4 separate regions of the Homo sapiens genome follow, and all the other regions are linked to region 2. The links are contacts of gene promoters, found by promoter capture Hi-C in blood cells and fetal thymus (Javierre and others, 2016). All regions are on one chromosome and are shown on one strand. Each heading gives the region's core, a stretch centred on a gene start or on the middle of the fragment in contact. The rest is flanking DNA. Distances are from core to core; before and after follow the strand shown. Region 1 holds the start of ARHGEF17 (Rho guanine nucleotide exchange factor 17). Region 2 holds the start of ARAP1-AS2 (ARAP1 antisense RNA 2). Region 3 has its middle 11 kb from the start of P2RY6. Region 4 overlaps P2RY6 (pyrimidinergic receptor P2Y6).

What was found. The method cuts DNA at HindIII sites, captures the fragments that hold promoters and counts their contacts. A CHiCAGO score of 5 or more calls a contact.
Region 1: the fragment with the promoter of ARHGEF17 here is called in contact with the fragment with the promoter of ARAP1-AS2 in region 2 in 1 of 17 cell types (neutrophils); the score reaches 5.9 in neutrophils.
Region 3: a contact is called between a fragment that was not itself captured here and the fragment with the promoter of ARAP1-AS2 in region 2, in 1 of 17 cell types (endothelial precursors). The highest score is 5.3, in endothelial precursors.
Region 4: a contact is called between a fragment that was not itself captured here and the fragment with the promoter of ARAP1-AS2 in region 2, in 1 of 17 cell types (neutrophils). The highest score is 7.1, in neutrophils.

Annotation. Positions count from the first base shown.
Region 1 is chr11:73,306,980-73,309,679 of GRCh38, reverse strand. ARHGEF17 (Rho guanine nucleotide exchange factor 17) reads right to left here and starts at 1,404. Exons shown (of 21, transcript NM_014786.4): 1 at 1-1,404. The coding sequence starts at 1,041. It overlaps ARHGEF17-AS1 (ARHGEF17 antisense RNA 1), which reads left to right and starts at 319. Exons shown (of 3, transcript NR_147696.1): 1 at 319-1,008; 2 at 1,116-1,798; 3 at 2,124-2,169. RefSeq lists enhancers at 1-409, 415-1,292 and silencers at 713-932, 1,163-1,492, 1,893-2,032. The HindIII fragment of the contact is 10,810 bases long and covers 1-2,700 here.
Region 2 is chr11:72,699,080-72,701,779 of GRCh38, reverse strand. ARAP1-AS2 (ARAP1 antisense RNA 2) reads right to left here and starts at 1,306. Exons shown (of 2, transcript NR_146780.1): 1 at 1,227-1,306. ARAP1 (ArfGAP with RhoGAP domain, ankyrin repeat and PH domain 1) reads left to right here. Exons shown (of 35, transcript NM_001040118.3): 16 at 1-131; 17 at 2,228-2,363; 18 at 2,673-2,700. RefSeq lists a silencer at 661-760. The HindIII fragment of the contact is 37,247 bases long and covers 1-2,700 here.
Region 3 is chr11:73,259,842-73,262,610 of GRCh38, reverse strand. No RefSeq gene overlaps it. Among named protein-coding and RNA genes, the nearest start is that of P2RY6, 11 kb to the left of the region's middle. The HindIII fragment of the contact is 428 bases long and covers 1,180-1,607 here.
Region 4 is chr11:73,284,614-73,287,349 of GRCh38, reverse strand. All of the region lies in intron 1 of P2RY6 (pyrimidinergic receptor P2Y6), which reads right to left. Among named protein-coding and RNA genes, the nearest start is that of P2RY6, 14 kb to the right of the region's middle. The HindIII fragment of the contact is 4,518 bases long and covers 1-2,736 here.

The sequences.
Region 1 (2,700 bases), core at 155-2,654, 610 kb before region 2:
GCCACTACCCCACTCCCGGAGTCCTTCTTCTCTAGGGGCTCTTGGAGATGTTGGGGGCTCAGGGCTCCCAGAAACCCCTGCTGAGTTCATGCTGCTTAGATTTAACCCATCACTGTCAGGCCTGCAGTCCTGATCCAATAGGGAGCTTCCAGGCCTGAGCCCGGGCCTCCCTCCCCAGCGGTGGCCGCCCTCACCGTCTCGGTCGTCGTCACTGCCCGAGGAGTGGCCGCCGTGGTAGGCCGGACTCTGGGCTCCAGGCAGCTGCGGCGGGCCCTCCTCTTCCTCCTCGCTGGAGCTGGCAGCACGACTGCGGCTGACAGGATAGGAGGCGGCGATGGAGGAGGAGGAGCAGGAGGCCCGGGCCCCGGCCTGCGGTTGGGAGAAGATATGCCAAGAATGTAAACCATCCGCTGGACGCTGCGCCCGCTCCTGTTGCTGCTGCGGCCGGCGCAGCCTCCCTTCGGTCTCCGGCCCGGTCAGGGGCCGCGCCGAACGCAGACCCGCCAGGGGGAAGCATGTCCGAGGGGGTGGCGTCGGTGGCTGCCGCGACTCCCGAGCCGGAGGCTCCCACGCGGCACCGTCGGGGCTGGGCGTTCCTGGGGATTCAGAGTCGGCGCTGGGCCTCCTGGAGCCAGGACCGCCGAAGAGCTTGCGCATCTCGGTGACGCTGGGCCAGGCTCCTCGCGCTGGGCCCTCGGCCGCTTCTTCCGCGGCCGCGGGTAAGACGCCTCCGTCTCGGGTCCCAGCGGAGCCGTCGTCCAGACGCGGCGCGTCGAAGCGCCGGGAGAGCTGGCGAACCGACGGCGAGAGGCTGCGGAGCGGGCGCGGCTGCGCGGGGGCGGCCAGGGGCCCAGACGCCAGCTTGGACACGCGCCGAGAGGGCTGGCCCCGGGCAGCCGTGGTCGGCCGGCACGAGGCGCGTCGCCTCAAGCCGGGGGTGTCCGTGTCCTCCTCCCTCAGCCCGGGGCCGCCGCTCCAGCGCTCCAGCAGCTTGAACGAGACGCTGCGGTAAAGCTGGGGCCGGGGTGCCCCGTCCGCCATAGTGGCGTAACTCACTCCGGGGGGGCTGGCCTCGGGCAGCCGCGGCCAACCCCCCCTGCGCCCCCACTCCCTAGGAGCGCAGCGGCCCACGCCGAAAGCAGCGCACGGGAGTGTGGGAAGAGGACGCAGAGACCGGAGCAGAGGTTTCTCTGCCGCGGCTCAAGTTTCTGTGGCCACCGGCCGCAACGTCTCCATCCCGGGCGGCCCCTCCCGCCTCAGCGCCGACCCCCAGGCCCAGCCCCCGCCGCGGCTGGAGCGACCAGGGGCACCGCGGCACCGCCTGGGCGGGATCCCAGCGCTTGGTTCCTCGACTCTGCGTCCGCCTGCCCAACGCCCTTGGCTGCTCGCTCCTGGCACCCTTTTGTTGCAAATAAACTTTGCGGCAGAGGCAAGGGGGCGGGGGGCGGGGCCTCGCGCCCAAAAGAGGGGGTGGGCTCCGGGCGTGCGCGAGCCTGGGAACCGCGTGGTGGGAGGGAATCAGGGAGGAGCCGAAGAAGAAAAAGCCTGCTGGAGGACTTGCAGACTGAGGCGACCCTCTGGCCCTCCAGAGAGGTCCCTCGGGAGCCCAGCAGGCCGAGCTGCCCCCAGGGAGTCGCTGAGACACACACAACCGCTGAGCGTGCTCAGCTCCGCAGACTCGCAGCCAGGGCGCCGCGTCCACCGCGGGCCACCAGCCTCCGCGCGGAAACACCTCCTGCCCAGGGGCTCCAACATGGCAACCTCGGACTCACAAACTCTCGTACACACTGACACTCAGGTGCACGCAGACGCACACTCTCTGGGCCGGGAAAGGGGTGGGACTCGGCGCCAGGGAGAGCCCGGGGAGCCGCGGGCTAACTGAAGGGTCCGTCGCGCCCTACTCCCCGCCCAGGCCACGCCTCCTCCCCTTCCCTCCCCCTCCCCGCCCGCCCTCTGCGGCGAATTTAGCTGTAGCCACGCCCTTGTCCCCCCATCTCGCTCCCAAGCGCCCCGCCCATCCCACCTCCCAGCCGCCTGTCCGGCTCCGACCGGCCCCCAACCCGCCCAGCGTTGCTCCAGAAGTCCCACCCTTCACGACCGCGCCCCCACCCCTACTTTTCCAGCTGCCACGCCTTCCACCTGCCCCTGCAGTCTGGCGGCTCTTCTCCTGGACTCTCCGCCTGGATCCCCGAGCCTTTTCTTCTTGCTCTGGAGTACGCGGCTCTTGCGCCCCCTCGCGGCGTGATTTTCCCAACGCACGGAGTCCTGGACGGATAAAGCAGCACCCATCCCCCAAAAACGGAGAGTTGTGAAAACTTCCTTTCAGTCGTTACCTAATCCCCTTAGTCTTTTTCAGACCTTCGCAAAGCGCACTGCCCCTTCTTAGGCCTTATACACAAAAGGAGCTTCGACGGGAACGCCCTCGACTTCCCACTGCCAAACCTATACTCTTACCCGCAGCTGCTTCACCTTCTTGGCAGGAAAAGTGTCGGTTGTTTCTCTGGCTTCACGCTGATCCCTCGCTTGAGCTCCCCTCCCGCCCCTGCCTCCGTCTGAGTCTCACATTGTTCTCGGTATTGGGGCATCATCCCCTTCCGCATTCCCACCTGCCTCTAGATCCCATTCATCCTCCCGGCCCAACTAACGAATGAACGAACGAATGAAAATGTATGGAGTACCTATAATGTATGGGCAATATTA
Region 2 (2,700 bases), core at 57-2,556:
GCCTCGGCTGGACTCGATGAAGCCCCTGGAAAAGCACTACTCAGTTGTCCTGCCGACCGTGAGCCACAGTGGCTTCCTCTACAAGACTGCCTCTGCCGGCAAGCTGCTACAGGACCGCCGGGCCCGGGAAGGTGGGTGCCACCCCAGACTCTGCTTTAGCCCATGGCATCTGGTCACGGCTGCAGGGCTAGGGAAGCCAGGGCTGGCCAGACTGGTGGACTCTGGCAGAGTCACCCTAGAGGGCTTCCTGGATATAGTCTGTGGTACACAGTAGGTACTTCCTAAATGATCCTGGTGGGAGTGGGGGTAGTGCATGACACTGCAGAGCAGGTCAGTGCCAGAGTTTCTTTGGACTAAATGAGCCTTTATTGAGCCCCTACTGGATATGGGCTCTGCTGAGCATCTGGTAGTAAGAGCCTGTGGCTGGTAGGGAGTTTGAGGACTGAACGAAAGCCCTATCCATCTGATCTCAGCCTTCCATTCACTCCCCAACTCAGAAGAAAATCCACAAGAGCCCGCACAGTTGGCCACCACCCCCATTACCTCTCTGAACCACCCCCCTAATCACTCTGCCGGTCTCCTCACTGTTTCTCAGACACGTCGTCACCTACCAGGATCTTTGCCTGTGCTGTTCCCTCTGCCTGAAATGCATTCCCCCAGGTATCTGCATGGCCAGTCCCTCACTTCCGTCAGGTCTCTGTTTCAGTATCACTCCTGCAGAGATGTCATCTCTGACTACCTTATGCAAAATAGCACCCCCCATCTCTCCCTTTACCCTTTTGAGATGGAGTTTCGCTCTTGTTGCCCAGGCTGGAGTGCAATGGCGCGATCTTGGCTCACCGCAACCTCTGCCTCCCGGGTTCAAGCAATTCTCCTGCCTCAGCCTCCCGAGTAGCTGGGATTACAGGCATGCGCCATCATGCCTGGCTAATTTAGTTAGTAGAGATGGGGTTTCACCATGTTGGTCAGGTTGGTCTCAAACTCCCGACCTCAGGTGATCTGCCCGCCTTGGCCTCCCAAAGTACTGGGATTACAGGCGTGAGTCACCACGCCTGGCTACCCTGCATTTTCTTCACACCACTTACCTGGTACTCATTTGTCCATTAATGTACTTATCTATAGATTCTCTGTACCCCACTGGGACATAAACTCCTTTTGGCCACCACTGCCTGTAGCCCCCAGATCCTAGAACAGTGGCTAGCACACAGTGGGCACTTGGCAAATACCTGCAGAATGAAGGATGACTCAGGCAGAGCTGGTGCTCCTGGAGGGAGCCCACCTGCGGGGACAGGCCTGAGGACACATTGCTCTCAAAGAGCACATGTCAGGCCCTCACAGACAGGATGAGAGACAGAGTCTGCTGTGGGAACATTGTGAGGTCATTGCTGACAACATCCCTCAGCACCTCCTGCATGCTTTCCTACGGGGACAAAGCCCTCCAACTCCCAAAGAGATTTCTTTGGAACTCCATGCTGTTCACAACCTCATTGCCCCAGGTCTGCCTCCCTCTGCCTGACAATGTCATTTATGTAACAACTGCCTGAGTCATCCTTTTTGCCCTGGATGCCAGGAAGCTCTGAGCCACTGTAAAGCTCAGTGCTGTGAACGGTACAAGCCTGCATGGCCATGACAGCCTATCCTTTCCATTACCTTTCCTGGTCCAGATTCCCATTTCTGTTTCTTTTATGGGACCTTGCCAGTCCTTCAGAGCCATTGTAGCAGGAGGCAGAGTACAGAGTGATAGATGCTTCTGGAAAAGGAGGTTGGGGCATAGAAGGCTTCCTGTGACATTCAGGTGGTGGGTAGAGGGGACAAGGTTTGCAAAAGCTGGGAGTGCTGGGTAGGGATGTGTGTGTCCAGGAGTGACAGAGAGGCAGCTGGAGAGACGGGCAGGGGTAGACCTGGCAGGGCCTTGAATGGCAGGCTGAGGGGCACAGAGTCTGTCCTGAGGACCATGGAATGGTTTTGGTTAGAGGAAGGATGGGGTCTGATTTTAGCTAGATCACTCTGGGATTTTGGAAGGGGCTGCTGCAGAGGCCTGGGGGAGCGGATGACTTGTGGGCTGGCTAGCGTGGTGGGGATGCAGAGAGGTGGATGGATTTAGGGAAAACTTGAGAGAATGAAGAGCTCATGGGTCAGATGGGAGCAGGAGCCCCGGGAGGATGCAGAGGTGGTTTTCAGGTGGTGGGGGGCTCCCTGATGGCTCCCCTGCCCAAATTCTCCCCAGAGTTCAGCCGGCGCTGGTGTGTCCTTGGTGACGGGGTCCTGAGCTACTTTGAGAATGAGCGGGCAGTGACCCCCAATGGAGAGATTCGGGCCAGCGAGATTGTGTGCCTGGCAGTGCCCCCTCCTGACACCCATGGGTGAGTACTCCTGGGCAAATCAGACTGTGGTTGCTATAAGGTACAATCCCCCACTGGGGAGACAGGGAAATAGACCCAGAGAAGGGGAGGACCTCCGCAGAGTCACACAGCAAACGGAGGCTGCACAAGGGCCGACTCCAGTCTCTTGAGGCCCCAGCCCAAGACTTTTCCACCACCTCTTAGGGGACCAGAATAAGGACAAGCGCCAAGGCAGTGCGGAGGGGGCAGAGGATGGCGGTTGATGGTGCGGGTTGGGGGTGGGCCCGTGCTGGATGAGGTGGGCCTGAGTCCTGGCCTGTGTATTTGCAGCTTTGAGCACACCTTTGAGGTGTACACG
Region 3 (2,769 bases), core at 144-2,643, 560 kb before region 2:
ATAACTCCTATACGTCAATAGGAAAAAGCTAAACAACCTAACAGAAAAATGATTGAAAGACATGAACAGGCATTTCACAGAAAAGAAAGCAATTATGGCCAATACACATAAGAAAATATGTTCAACCTGACTATCAACCAGGGAAATCTAAATTAAAACCAAATGAAATGATACCATTTCATGCATATCTGATTATCAAACTTTTTAAAGTTTGATAATTGGTTTGGTTGAAACCAATTCCATTCCTCCATTGCCCTAGACACACTTCTACATGTGGCCAGAGGGTACCCTACTGGACAGCAGATATAGGATATTTCCGTCATCACAGGAAGTTCTAAAGCATTTAAAACACTGACTACTTCATTATCTAACACTGAATGTGCTGCGTTTTCTCACATACAGAAGTGCTCCTGATTCTGCTGATTCTACTCAATTAAAACAAAATTGGCTTGGCTTCAACCAATAATTGGTTATTCAGCAAACGTTGAAACCAATTATTTGGTTGAAACCAAACGCACTTTGTTTGAATTGGCAGGAATTTTTACATACTGCTGGGAACACAACCAAGTTGAAGAACAATCTGTCAATATCTAGGAAAAGTGAAAATGCATAGCTTAAAACTGAACCATTCCACTTCAAGGCATATAATCAGGAGAAACCCCTGCACATGTATAAAGATGTACATCACAGCACTGTATCTTTTTATTTTTATTTATTTATTTATTTATTTATTTTTTGAGATGGAGTCTGTCTCTGTTGCCCAGGCTGGAGTGCAGTGGCATGATCTCGGCTCACTGCAACCTCCGCCTCCTGGGTTGAAGTGATTCTCCTGCCTCAGCCTCCCAAGTAGCTGGGATTACAGGTGCCCACCACCACGTCGGCTAATTTTTGTATTTTTAGTAGAGACGGGGTTTCACCATGTTGGCCAGGCTAGTCTCAAACTCCTGACCTCAGGCGATCCACCCGCTTCAGCCTCCTAAAGTGCTGAGATTACAGGCGTTAGCCACCATGCCAGCCTCTTCCCTTCATTATTAAGTATAGTTGTCTTCTAAGAAAGTGGAAAGGCCTGAGAAGAAAGTAGTTGAGCCTGAAAGACCTAGAAAAGCCTATTTATTATTAGAAGAAAATGTGGATGTAACAAAGCTCATTGGGAGGGCTGGACAGTGAAAGATGTAAGCTTGGCTTATGTGAGAGATGTGAGACTCATCCTCACCCACCATATGTGGGAGCGCTTCTGTGAGTGAGAAAATGCAGCACATTCATTATTAGATAATGAAGTAGTCAGTATTTTAAATGCTTTAGAACTTTTGGTGATGATGGAAATATCCTATATCTGCTGTCCAGTAGGGTAGCCTCTGGCCACATGTAGAAATGTGTCTAGGGCAACGGAGGAATGGAATTTTTAACTCCAAATTAATTTACGTTTAAATGTAAATAGCCTTATGTGACTAACAGATATCATATTTGATAGTGTAGTTTTATACTGTGCAGAAATCATTGCTGAGTGTTAATAGTTTTAAAAATTTTAATGGCATTTGGGGAAAATTAGGGTCTTAGGATGAGCTGGTGACACATTTTTCCTTTTTAAATTTCTGGGAATATAAGCTTTCACTATTCACAAATTTGTTATCAGAAATAAATTATATTCTTTTTTTTTTTTTTTGTCAGAGTCTCGCTCTGTCACCAGGCTGGAGTGCAGTGGCACAATCTCGGCTCACTGCAACCTCTGCCTCCTGGATTCAAGCGATTCTCCTGCCTCAGCCTCCCAAGTAGCTGGAACTGCAGGCACGCGCCACCGTGCCCAGCTAATTTTTGTATTTTTAGTAGAGATGGGGTTTCACCATGTTGGCCAGGATGGTCTTGATCTCTTGACCTCGTGATCCACCTGCCTTGGCCTCCCAAAGTGCTGGGATTATAGGAATGAATTATATTCTAACAGTAAAAGTGACTGTATGTTCTTAAATGGAATACTATATAGCAGACAAAAAATAAACTTGAGCAACCACATCAAGAAGGCTAAAATCACACAAGCATAATGTGACCAAAAAAGAAATATATAGGATACACACAGTATGAGACTATGCACATAAAGTTTTAATTATTGTATATTTCTATACAATAATGTAGAAATCATACAAAGGCATGTGTAAGAATGACCACCAGGGTAGAGGTCACCTTTGAGGAAAAGGAAGGGGTGAGATTGTGTGGGATCTATGCTGCTTTCTATTTCCCTCCTGACTCCCCAGCTCCCTAGCACACTCTGCAAAGACAAAGAGGATGGGCAGGGCCAGCACACAGAGGAGCCACCTCCCCTCCAAAGCCTTCTCTGGCTACCTCTCTGCCAGTCAGGGCTGAGGCCTCCTCTGGGCTCCCAAGTCCAAGTGTTGGCCTTTGTAACACCCTGATCACTCTGGCCTGGTGTTGTTTTTCTTCACACTTCTCCTCCACCAGCCAAGGAGTTTTTCCAGGGCATAATTCTTTGGAGATTTAAAGTCATCATCATCACTCATTTATTCTCTGACACCTGCTATGTGCCTAGGCCCGGGGAAGAAAAAAGATGAGTTGTTCATGGCTAGTGTCCTTCAGAAATGCCCAGTGTGGAGGAGAACAGACCAGAACCTGGTGGGCATTGGGCCAGAGAGACATGAAGATACATAGGAGCTCTGAGGGACCCCCAGCCCACCCAGCCCTAGAGCAGGGAGAACAGGGGTGGTTAAGGCACAAGTTGTGTCTTAGGCTGTGTTCAAGAACAACTAGAATTGTTTGGGT
Region 4 (2,736 bases), core at 65-2,564, 590 kb before region 2:
GAGGAGTGACCTTCACTGCATGCCTCAGAGTCAATTCTGGCGCTTTTACTGGGGCATCAGGAAGGAGACAGGTCTTCCACAATATTTGCAAAGTTAGTAGAAAGTGAGGCAGGAGCTGCTGGAGCCAAGTGAACTAAGTTCCAGGCATTGTCCTGGGCGACGGAGATACTGCCACCAGGGAGGAGACTATCCACATAGAAAGCCAAGGAATGGCAGAGATGAGAGATGGGGATGCATCGTTTCCTGAGAACAGCATTGAGTGCCTGGTTTCAGCTGTGCCTGAGGTTTTACCTTTGGTGTCATGAGCTGATAAACTCCCTTTTTGCCTCAATCCATTTAACCTAGGATTCTGTCACTTGAAACTAGGAGTCCTGCCTGTAGATCTGCACCTTGTGCCCAGGAAGACAGGTGACATTTCCCTACGAGAAAACTGAGGCCAGAGAGGTTAGGAACTTGCCCAAAGTGCACTATAAATCCACCATGATACCCTGTCTCTCAGGAAGAGTGGCTTAAGAAAGGACAAAGAAATGGAGGTCAAGAGTCAGGGCAGAGAAGAAGACCAGTCGAAGGGGCGGTGTCAGACTCCCTCCCTTTCCTTCTCTAACTCTGCTAGGAACAGGGGACAAGGTCTGCTTTGCCTCTGGAGCCTCAGAGACCAGTATAGGCTTTGGCCCAAGAGGCACTGGGAAATGTTGGATGACTGGATCCAGTCTATAAAGATGAGCGCCGGGGCTCTGTCCTCGGTGCTGCCTGGTTCCATTTTTTTTTTTTTTTTAAATCTTTGTCTTGACTGATGACAGAGAAGATTTGTCAAGGAGAATGAAGGTAATGGGTTCAGGAGTAGCACCTCTGAGACTGCTTGGGTCCCCCAGTCCCCACCTCAGGAAAGGCAGACCACTAACCCCGCCAAGTGGTTATTGTGGGTTATGATCCTGCCCATTTCCCAGGCAGACCCTGAGGCCCGAAGGTAGGCAGTTTTGTCCACAACTCGTACAGGTAAGGTTTGGGTGTGGAAGGGGAGCCTCAGGGAACTCCTCCCCTCCCGTGAAAGGCAGCCCCTGCCTTGATTCCTGTTCTGATCATCCCTAGCTCTTCCTGGGGCCTGAGCCCACCTGGCAGTGATAAGACGTCCAGCTGGACCCAGGGGTCAATGACAGGCCTCTGAGTTCTGGACCCTCAGGGCTAGGGAGGCCTTAAGGTCACCTGACCCAGAGGTCTCCCCATCATCCCCTCAGAGAAGGGGGCTCTCTGAAGCCTCCCTGACTGGGCTTGTTTGGCCCCTGCCTGCATACTTCCCATTGCAGGGAGCTCACTCCTCTCCTAGGCCACTGCATTCCACCTTGAGAAAGCTCACTGGGAGATATGCTTTGTCACACCAAGCCCCAAGATCTGTCCCTAGTGACTGCTCTCCCACACCAGTCCAGCTTGCCTCTGGGGCCATATAGCTTGGCTGCCCCAGGACACCCTGCAGAGGTTGTCCCAAGACCATCCATCTATTGGTCTTCATTCTCACCAGGCAATTTCAGGCACATGTCCAGGTCCCAGGAGACCTAGTGGTGGATCCTCAAGGATGAGGCCGTGGTCTGTGGCTGTTTTCAAACCTGAAGACAAAACCCTTTGCTACCCTCTGTCCTGTTTCATTGCCTGCCTGGGGCCTGTAAGGGGGGCATAGTCTCTTCTTTTGGGAGGAGGAAACTAAGGCCCCCAACAGCTTAGTTACTTGCCAGGGCCACCAATCCGTCAGTGATCTTCCAATCAGCAGGACTGCCTGTCGCCAAACCCCAAATCTTCACCCTCAAACTGGCCTGTTTGTGGCCAGTCCAGTGTGGGAGGAAGAGGACTTTGTGGGTGTCCAAGGGGTGGCCTGGGAGGAAGAGATCAAAGTAAGGGGCAACTACCTCATTCAGAGTGCAATGTAGGAGGTCAGCAGGCAACAGTGGCTCCTGCTGTGGAGTGTGCATGAAGAACACAGGACAGGCCGGGTGTGGTGGCTCACGCCTGGAATCTCAGCACTTTGGGAGGCCAAGGCGGGAGGATCACTTGAGCCCAGAAGTTCGAGACCAGGCTGGGCAACATAGAGAAAGCCTGTCTCTACCAAAAAATGTTTAAAAATTAACTGGATGTGTTGGCGTGTGCCTGTAACCCCAGCTACTTGGGAGGCTGAGGTGGGAAAATCGCTTGAGCCTGGGAGGCCAAGGCTGCAGTGAGCTATGATCACACCACTGCATTCCAGCCTTGGCTACAGAGCGAGACCCTGTCTCAAAAAAGGGACGTAGGACAGACCCCCTCAGGTGGTCACTCGAATGATACCTTCTCCATGGGACCTTCTCCTACCACTCTAAGCTAAAATTATAAACCCCTACGCAACGCATGTGCATGTGTGATTCCTACGCCCCTTCTCTGCTATATTTTTCTCCTTAGCATTTAAAATCTTTTAATACACTGTTCTACTTATTTATTGGTTATTGTCTCTCTCTCATGACTGAACATAAACTCCACCAGGGCAGGGGTTTTCGTGTTTTTTTTTCACTGCTGCATGTACTTAGGACGGTGTCTGGCATATAGTAGGTTCTCAATAAATATTTGTTGAGTGAATGAACAAATAAATTCCAGACGTGGTTCAATTATGTCTACACAGAGAGGACTGGGTGCACGGGGGTCTTGGCTTGAGGCTATTCATGTAGCAAGCTGTAGTTTGTACTTAAGAGTATGTGTTTATTGGGGATTGGGAGCAGA